Regions from separate parts of the Homo sapiens genome. Here region 2 is linked to region 1. Evidence: promoter capture Hi-C in 16 types of primary human blood cells and fetal thymus (Javierre and others, 2016). All regions are on one chromosome and are shown on one strand. Each heading gives the region's core, a stretch centred on a gene start or on the middle of the fragment in contact. The rest is flanking DNA. Distances are from core to core; before and after follow the strand shown. Region 1 holds the start of OR4D2 (olfactory receptor family 4 subfamily D member 2). Region 2 overlaps HSF5 (heat shock transcription factor 5).

Region 1 (5,008 bases), core at 1,804-4,303:
AGATGGCAATGAGGCGGTCAAAGGCCATCACTGAGAGGAAGAAGACCATGGCACCTCCCAAAAAGTGGAAGAAGAAGATCTGACCCATGCAGCCCTGGTAAGAGATGGTTTTCTTCTCAGAGAGGAGGTCCACTAGCATTTTGGGAGCAGTGACTGAAGAGAAACAGAGGTCTAGGACAGCCAGGTTTCGGAGCAGAAAGTACATGGGTGTGTGGAGCTGGGAATCAGAGGTCACTGTGATGATGATAAGGATGTTTCCCATAACAGTGGTGATGTAGACAAACAGGAACATTAGAAACAGGAAACGCTGGAGCTCCCGAGTCTGCGAGAGCCCCAGGAAGACAAAGTCTGATACCCACGTGAGGTTCCCTGTTTCCATGGTGTTTTCTCCATACACCTGAAGAAAATGAACCACAGACACAGATACATGAAGTCACTACTTTCCCTTTCAGGGCTCAGGGGCTCAGAACCAAGGTTTTAGGCCCATATGATGAGCATCCTTATGTGTAGACCATTATACTAGGTGCTGTCTTGTCTCTGGATCGTTTACAAGTGGGTGCTGGAATATACATTCCTGAAATCTTAACGCCATCCAGAAGTATATACAACCTGCCTTTCAAAGATTCATATAGTGGTGGGAAGACACTTGGAGTCAGATACATCTGAAGTCAAATTTCAGGTCTTTCATTTCATTGTGATTTGACCATGAGTAACTTACTTAATCTTTCTGGGCCTCAGTTTTCACGGGAATTTGTAAGGTAGAAATAAAAATACCTGCTTTGTAGAATTTTCTGAGGACTTAAGTAGAATGATAGATATAAAGTTCCTAAAACAGTGTATGGAATAATCAATGGCAATTACTCACCTGTGTGAATTCTCTTAATCTAAAGATATCCTCTCTTCCACTCTGTAATAAGATTCTTTGCCAATTATTTTTCACATGACATTTAATACATCATCGTGTTAATGGATTTTCCTTGTCTATATTTTCCCTCCACAATTCAACTATTAAGTCCAAAGCCTATATCTGGATCTCACAATTTATTTGTGCCCTGCAGTACCCATTCTTAATGACAGTTAACTTAAAAAGCTCTTGGTGTTGACTGCTGCATGGGTGAATAGCTATCAGGTGCACAAGTTCAGCACAAGGAAGACACTGGATGCAGCTGGATGCCTGAGACATCCAGTAGTTCCCCTGCCCTCCACTGTGGGCGGCCCCTTATGAGTGAGGCATATGTGGTGGTGCTGAGACAAGAGGGAGAAAAGGGAGGGAGAGTCATTGGATTGAGAAATAGATGATGAATATTGTATGAAGGGGACTCAGAGAGCTTCTGAATGAAACAGGAATTTTACAAGATGTTACTGAATCCAAGGGTGGGAGACAAAGGAAGTTGTTGAAAGAAAACAAATAGAAATAGACAAAGGAATAAAGGGAGATGAAGGAATAGAGCAAGTGAAGGTAAAGGAAGTGGAAAAGTGCTGGGGAGGTGGAGAAAACGGGACTAAAGGGACAGAAGAAGATGGAGGAGCCGGGAGAGGTGGCTCACGCCTGTAGTCCCAGAAATTTGGGAGGCGGAGGCGGATGGATCACTTGAAGTCAGAAGTTTGAGACCAGCCTGGCCAACATGGTGAAACTCCGGATCTGTACTAAAAATACAAAAAAATTAGCCGGGCGTGGTGGCACACACCTGTAATCTCAGCTACTTGGGAGGCTGAGGCAGGAGAATCGCTTGAAGCTGGTTGGAGGCTGCAGTGAGTGGAGGTCATGCCACTGCACTCCAGCCTGGGTGACAGAGCGAGACTCTGTCTCAAAAAATCAAAAACAAAAAAAAAAGAAGAAGAAGATGGAGGGTGACAGGGGAGGGGGTCAGTGGTCTCCCCCCTCCCCCTGCCCTGTCTCAATCTCTCTTACCCTCTCTTACCTGGCCTATTGCAATCTATTATCTACAATATTATAGGTCATTCTAATCTTATTCTGCTCCTTCAGTTTACTTCCACTCCAGGACACCTTCTTTTTTTTTTTTTTTTTTTTTTTGTGACGGAGTCTCGCTGTCGCCCAGGCTGGAGTGGCGCGATCTCGGCTCACTCACTGCAAGCTCCGCCTCCCGGGTTCACGCCATTCTTTTACCTCAGCCTCCCGCGTAGCTGGAACTACAGGCGCCCACCACCTCGCCCGGCTAATTTTTTTTGTAACACGGTTTCACTGTGTTAGCAGGATGGTCTCGATCTCCTGACCTCGTGATCCGCCCGCTTCCGCCTCCCAAAGTGCTGGGATTACAGGCATGAGCCACCGCGCCTGGCCTCACTCCAGGACACCTTCTACACAGCTGTCCATGAGACCCCTCTGACTCAGATGTGATCATATTCCTCATTGTTATAATATTTGATTTGCTCACAGCTTAAAACTCAAACTCTCAGAAGCCACCTAAAATGCTCTGTGGATAAACTGAGGGTGGAAAAACATACCTACATACGTGCATGCAACTCTCTCTCAGCATTTCATACAAGACTATAAAAAATAGCCTCCCTATACCTTTCTAATCAGTATCACTGTCACCTGGGAACTGATTGCTGTTCAAAGAACTCATAGCTTCCATGTAGGCAGTATATTTCATTATTTTCATATCTTTGGTAATAAATCCTGTTTCCTGAAATGCCTTTTGCTACCTTCTCAACCTAGAGGCGATAAGAGAAATATCACTTTCCCTTTGACTCCTCCCCCCATTTCTCTCATGCAGAATTAATTCCTTATTTCTCTGTGTTCCAATAGCATTTGATAAATACCTCCATTATAGCATTTATCATTTTTTCTATTGCTTCTCTTAACTAGATTGTAAATTCAATAACTTAGTAAGCCCAGAGTCTATGACAGCATCTCTGATTTAGCACTTGCTCAGAAATGTTTGCCAACTTAATATATTAGCAGGTAAATGTGACTTTGTTTTATGTGACAATGTCGAGAATCTTGTGATTTTCCTCACCGTTGATGTCCTTTGCTGTGAGCATCCTCCCTCTAAGTCTCATAGGGCGAATTCTGTGCTTTGTTGTTTTCCTATGTAATCGGAGGCATCCGTTTTCAACATCACATTCCCCTTGCAGTTTTTCTTGAGTCTCTGCTCATCCTTTAGACTTACTATCGTCAGGTCTATGTCACTTGCTTATTACTCCCACCCTCTAGCAGGTGTTGCAAGATCTTTCTTACAGCTGATCTCTGTGCAGCTGAGGAAACACTGGTCTCTCACCTCCCTTTAGCCCAGAATGGGGCTTCAGTGTACATCTTCTTGGAGATCCTTTGCTTCAGCCTCACAGTTTCTTAGCTCCTGCCCTTACTTCATGAATAATACCATGGGTGAGACCCCAGGGGAAGGGGGAATATCCTTTGGGAGAAACTATTGGACAGGGCTCAGGAAGCTGAGCTGGGCTGATTATCACTGGGGCCAAGGGAGCAATGGGAGTTGTTAAAAAGTTTCTAAATGTCTCAAAAGCACACACTCTTTGAGAGGTCTTCCTTGGGGGGCCCAAAGTACCAAGCACATTGAAAATTTTAGAGATTTGAGGAATGGGTAATATTCAGGCCAAGATCCAAAAGGACAAGAGGGTCTTCAAAAAAAAGGAGACTCTGAGAGTTTTAGGAGAATTTCTTTCTTAGACCAGTGACACCTACCCTTGAGAGAATTACCTGAAGGCCTTGTTAAAAGGCAGACTTCTGTTCCCAGCCCAGAATTTCTCATTCAGTACATCAATGGTAAGACCAAGAATTTGCATTTGTAGCAAGTTCTCAGATAATGCTGATGCACCTGTTCCAGGGACCAGACATTGAGAACCAACGACTTGCTCTTCAGCACAATGGATAGTTCTCTTTCATGGTGTTGTCAAGGTAACTGGTTTGATTTCTTCTCCTTTTAAACTGAATTGATCTTTACATAGGCAACGTCATGGATGGGAAAATGTCTGCATACTAAAATGAAAACTTAATTACCCCATAAATCTTGTTCTTCATCTTGTCAACCAATACCCCCACAGTTGATTCACTACCCATATCAATTATACTCACACCATCTACAAAGTGCTAGCATTATTTACATGTCAATTATTACTCCCTTTAATACAAGGATTGGCACAAGAAGCCCATATATTTTCTAATTATGAGGAACTGATTAAAAATTGGAATTAACCAACACTGTAAGCTTGATGTGCTGTAAAATCTGTGTGATTTCTCACAGCTCTCTGATCCACGTGAGGTTCTCAGGTTGGTCTGAGTTCTTTCATTGCGAATGTTTATACTTGGCAAAATAAAGACTCTGCCTCTGGGGATAAGAACACGAAGTGACGTTCTTTCACATACAAGAGATGTCAATTTAAAAAAAACACAAATTCTTCCCATTATTTGGAGCTTTAGTCTACTTTAAAATTGAGCCACTCAGGAAAGTAGTCTAGATTGATGGTGGGGATGGGCACAGGCCTTGTTAATGTTATTGACTCTCAGATGGGTGATTTTGAATTACCTGGATTAATTCTTTATGATTCCGATTTAGCTTTCAGTAATAGAGACCTGGTAGGTTCCAGTTTATATATTTCCCCTGTCAAAAGTACAGGTAGGTCGTAAAATGTCCATCAAAGCTCATCTTTACTGCAACCACTAGCCAGTATAATGGTTGCCAGTGTATGAATGGCCTGGATGGAGTAATTATGCTAAAGACTCAGTCATGGAAAATTGAGCTGAGAAAATTATTTCTATATGTATCACATTTCTAAGAAAATAAATGTTTGTCAGACTTAGCTACTATTATAATGTCAAGCCACTAAACGGATACAGGACACGTGTAGAGGAAATATCATGTAAATTCTCATGCAGGAAGCCCAGCATCATTGATAATTAATCATTCTCCCTTTGTGATGGTCTGTGTTATGTGTCAACTTGACTAGGCTATAGTTTCCAGTTATTCAATCAAACTCTAATCTAGGTGTTGCTGTGAAGGTATTTTGTAGATAAAATTGATGTCTATAA
Region 2 (5,008 bases), core at 1,243-3,742, 270 kb before region 1:
TTCCTCAACAAAGACAATTACCTCCCTGAGAGGAACTCTGGTGCCTGCTGTTAAAAAAATAATTTCCTCTCTTTCACTACATGTTATGGTTATAAGTGTAACTGATAAAATAATTAGCACAGTAATTATCTTTATTAACTCTTCCTGTTGTTTTTTTTTTCTAAGTAAAGCCTTATCCTTTGGTCAGTGCAGTTAATAGATGAGTCTTAATTGATGTTGGCTTCCTGCTGTGAAACATAAGAGTTGTGAAATCTTGGCATCATTATGACACCTAATCACATTTTCATTTTATTATGGACAAGAGGAAAATGAGTTATGATTAAGCTAGAACCTCTCTGCTAAAAAAAAAAAAAGTTTTTTAATTAAAGTGTAGGCAGAAATACAATTCATGAAGTTGCAAATGATTCTGCTCTGATAGACCTTGGCCTAGCAGTTGGTCTATGAAAACATGGCTATATGTAAGGTCCCATGGCATTAAGAGACCTTAACCAAAGTCAATGTGTGAGATTAATATACTGCTCATTAAAAACAGTACAGCATATGGTTAGAAAGAAAGCTTTTGGTGTTAGAAAAACCTGCATTAAAACCTGGATTCTGCTCTTTACTGTGTGACCTTGGACGTGTTTACCTAACTGAGCTTTGGTGTCCTCATCTGCAAAATGAGGAATATGGATTATAATGATATAAATCATAGAACTGGCTTAGTATTATGCTGGGTTACATAGTAAGTAGTCCATACATAGTAGCAATAGAATTTTAGCTATTTTTATAACATTTACTTTTTTTTTTTTTTTTTTTTTGAGATGGAGTCTCGCTCTGTCGCCCAGGCTGCGGTGCAGTGGCGTGATCTTGGCTCACTACAAGCTCCACCTCCCAGGTTCACACCATTCTCCTGCCTCAGCCTCCCGAGTAGCTGGGACTACAGGCGCCCGCCACCATGCCCGGCTAATTTTTTGTATATTTAGTAGAGATGGGGTTTCACCATGTTAGCCAGGATGGTCTCGATCTCCTGCTCGCCTCAGCCTCCCAAAGTGCTGGGATTACAGGCATGAGCCACAGCGCCCAGCCAATATTTACTGTTCTTATGTTTATTACCACTGGTTACTTTTCAGATGGCTAGTCTCTATTTATTTATTTATTTGTTTATTTATTGAGCTGGAATCTCACTCTGTTGCCTAGGCTGGAGTGCAGTGGCGTGATCTCGACTCACTGCAACCTCCGCCTCCTGGGTTCAAGCGATTCTCGTGCTTCAGCCTCCCAAATAGCTGAGACTACAGGCATGAGCCACCACACAACTGATTTTTGTATTTTTAGTAGAGATGGGGTCTTGCCATGTTGGCCAGGTTGGTCTTGAACTCCTGACCTCAGGTGATCTACCCACCTTGGCCTCCCAAAGTGCTGGGATTACAGGCATGAGCTACTGCACCCCGCCTTAGTCTCACTTTAAATTCACGTAGGCTGTCAGTGTTGCAGCAGTCCTATAATATTTTCTAGTCAATATATTCCCCATTCTCCAAAGCCACTCTATTATATCCTGTCCTCTCTGCTCCGTTTCCAACACTCCTCCTCTCTCTTCATTCGTGGCTGTGACCCTGTTTTATATCTTACTGAGAAAATAGAAGCAGCTAGAATGAAGCTTTCATATCTTCCCACCAACATATTTATCAGTCTACTTCCAATTGTAACCCTACACGCTGCCTTTCCTTCTGTTATAATGGAAAAGGGCCAGTCCTTTCATTTGTATACAGAATCCTGTCCCCTTTGGTGTACTCACAGACTTAGGACCTACTGCTATCCCCCTTACTCTTCAATAATCACATTGTATCTTTATTTTTGCTTTCCCCCTAAGGCAGAGTCTTCCTCTGTCATCCACGCTGGAGTGTAGTGGTGTGAATACAGCTCACTGCAACCTCGACTTCCCGGCTCAAGCAATCCTCCCATCTCAGCCTCCTGAGTAACTGGGACCACAGGCTCATGCCACCATGCCCAGCTAATTTTTTTAATTTTTATAGAGACAGGGTCTTGCCATGTTGCCCAGGTTGTCTTGATTTCCTGGTCTCAAGTGATCCTCCTGCCTTGGCCTCCAAAGTGCTGGGATTATAAGAGTGAGCCACAGTGCCTGGCCACATTTTATCTTTTTTTTTTTTTTGAGATGGAGTCTAGCTCTGTTGCCAGGCTGGAGTTCAGTGGCAAGATCTCGGCTCACTGCAACCTCCGCCTCCCAGGTCAAGCGATTCTCCTGCCTCAGCCTCTTCCCAAGTAGCTGGAATTACAGGCACGCGCTGCCACATCCAGCTAATTTTTGTATTTTTAGTAGAGATGGAGTTTTACCTTGTTGGCCGGGATGGTCTCGATTTCCTCCCAAAGTGCTGGGATTATAGGCATGAGCCACTACGCCCGGCCTAACATTTTATCTTTTATGTTAGATAATTCCCATCAGCATGCAAACATGTCGTCATAGGTTCTATGTTTTAAAAATCCCTTTGGGCCAGGCACAGTGGCTCACGCCTGTAATCCCAGCACTTTGGGAGGTTGAGGCGGGTGGATCACCTGAGGTCAGGAGTTCTTGACCAACCTGGCCAATATGGTGAAACCCCGTCTCTACTAAAAATACAAAATTAACCAGGCGGGGTGGCATGCGCCTGTAATCCCAGCTACTCGGGAGGCTGAGGCAGGAGAATCAATTGAATCCGGGAGGCGGAGGTTGCACTGAGCCAAGAACACGCCACTGCACTTCAGCCTGGGCGACAAGAGTGAAGCTCCATCTAAAAAAAAAAAAAAAAAAAATCCCTTTGACCTTTCCTTCATACCTCCATGTAGCTATTCCTCTACTTTTTCTGCTTTCCTTAGAGCAAAGCTCCTTGGAAGCATATCCTTACTTCAACTACTCCAAGCAGATTTTTCTTTCTTCTGCTCAACTGAAACTTCATTTGTCAAGGTTTCCAATGACTGCCATGTTGCCAAATCCAGTAGCCAATTATCAGTCCGTATTTTACTTAATTCACCTCAGCAGCATTTGAACAGATTATTTCAACCTTCCTGAAATGCTTTCTTCTGGCTTGTGGAACATCTCCCTTTCCTAGTTTTCACTGGCCAACTCTGTAGTTTCTTTTACTGAATACTCTTCAACTTTCCTAATTTCTAAATATTGATGAACCCCAGAGCTCAATTCTTTCTCTCTCTCTATTCAATTCCTAGGTAATCTTAACCAGTCTCATGCTTTTATTATCACCTTTGTAGTGGTGTCTCCGAAATCTGTATCTTAAGTCTCAATCTTCTCTGAACCTCACTTGTATACACTACTGCCTACGCTACGTCTTTGGATGTCCAGTAGGTGTCCCAAGCTTAATATATTCTACCTTTTCCCCAATTTTACTTATTTACTTATAAATAAATAGTATTGGCCAGGCGTGGTGGCTCATACCTGTAATCCCAGCACTTTAGGAGGCCAAGGTGGGCAGGTCACTTGGGCTTAAGCGAGACTAGCTTGGCCAACATGGTGAAACCATGTCTCTACAAAAAACATGCTTGGTGGCAGGTGCTTGTGGTCCCAGCTACTCGGAAGGCTGAGGTGGGATAATTGCTTGAGCCTGGGAGGCAGAGGTTGTAGTGAGCTGTGATTGTGCCACTGCACTCCAGCCTGGGCAACAGAGCAAGACCTTGTCTCAGATGAATGAATGAATGAATGAATGAATGAATGGTACTTCTAGTCATCTGGTCAGCCACAACTCTTGGAGTCTCCCTTGACTCCCTTCTCTCACATGTCCAGTCCATCAGCAAATCTTATCAGCTCACTGTAGATGCAGATCCAGAATCTGACCATTTCTCACCTCCTTTATTTGGTGTCGCCATGGTCCAAGCTACTACTTTCTCTTGCCTAGATGACTGCAGTAGCTTCTTAAGGTTTTTCTGCTTCTGCTCTTGGCCCCTACAGTCTTTCTGCCAGAGTGATCTCTTAAATCAGTAATTATTTTCCCATCTAAATTTATTTAATAGTTTTCTATATATATATATGTAGAAGAAAATCTGAGAATCCTTACTGTGGTCTTCAAGATGCTGAATGATTTGGCTCCTGGCAACTGTTCTGGCTTCATCCCCTACCACCTTCTATCTCCCTCATCTAGTCCAGCCCCAGCAGTTTCTTCACTATTGTTTAAGCATACCAAGAATGCTCCAGCCTTTACACTTGCTATTGTCTCTGCCTGAAATGTTTTTCACCCAGATTTTCACATGGTGTGTTCCTTCATTTCATTCAGTCCTCTGCTCAGATGCCAGATCATCACAGAAATCTTCCTGACCATGCCATCTGAAATGGCACCCTGTTCCCCATGTCCTGCCCTCCTTCAGTCTTTATTCTTCTTTGTTTTTCTTCTGCAGTGCCTATTACTACTTGCTATTTTTCTATAATTCCCACCCCCACTCTTTCTAGAAGGTTGGTTCTCTGTGGTTGTTTTACCCATTGTTGTATCCCCAGGACCTAGAATATTACCTGTGGCACTCCTTGTTGGATAAATAAATGAATGAGTTGCTTTTTTTCTCCATATACATTCTTATCTTACTAATGTACTTTTTAAAAATTTATGGAAAAATGCAGTCTTTTAAAAAATTGTGATAAATGCTCATAAAATTTACCATCTTAACCATTTGAAAATGTACAGTTCAGTTAATGCCACTGCTACCATCACCACCATTTCTCTCCAGAACTCTTTTCATCTTGCAAAACTGAAACTCTATACCCATTAAACAGTAAGTCTCCATTTCCACTGTCCCCTGAATGCTGGTAGCCACCATTCTACTTTCTGTGTCTGTGTCTATGTCTACATTTTGTCTCTATGAGCAGTCTTTTAGTTAACCACTAAGAGGTAAGGTTTGAATATTTGGGAAGTCAAACCACCCTCAGGTTTCTTTTAGCAAGTACTTACTGAATGCCTGCCTTGGGCTTGGTACTGTGCTAGGTCCAATAGGGTTACACAAGTGGTGTCTTCTACAGTTCTCTTCTGCTGGAAAC

What was found. Contacts are between HindIII fragments. The CHiCAGO score rates a contact against its expected background, and 5 or more counts as called.
Region 2: a contact is called between a fragment that was not itself captured here and the fragment with the promoter of OR4D2 in region 1, in 1 of 17 cell types (M1 macrophages). The highest score is 5.2, in M1 macrophages.

What each region holds. Positions count from the first base shown.
Region 1 is chr17:58,165,027-58,170,034 of GRCh38, reverse strand. OR4D2 (olfactory receptor family 4 subfamily D member 2) reads right to left here and starts at 3,053. Exons shown (of 2, transcript NM_001004707.4): 1 at 2,982-3,053; 2 at 1-397. The coding sequence starts at 379. The HindIII fragment of the contact is 4,615 bases long and covers 1-4,189 here.
Region 2 is chr17:58,431,691-58,436,698 of GRCh38, reverse strand. All of the region lies in intron 5 of HSF5 (heat shock transcription factor 5), which reads left to right. Among named protein-coding and RNA genes, the nearest start is that of RNF43, 17 kb to the right of the region's middle. The HindIII fragment of the contact is 1,708 bases long and covers 1,639-3,346 here.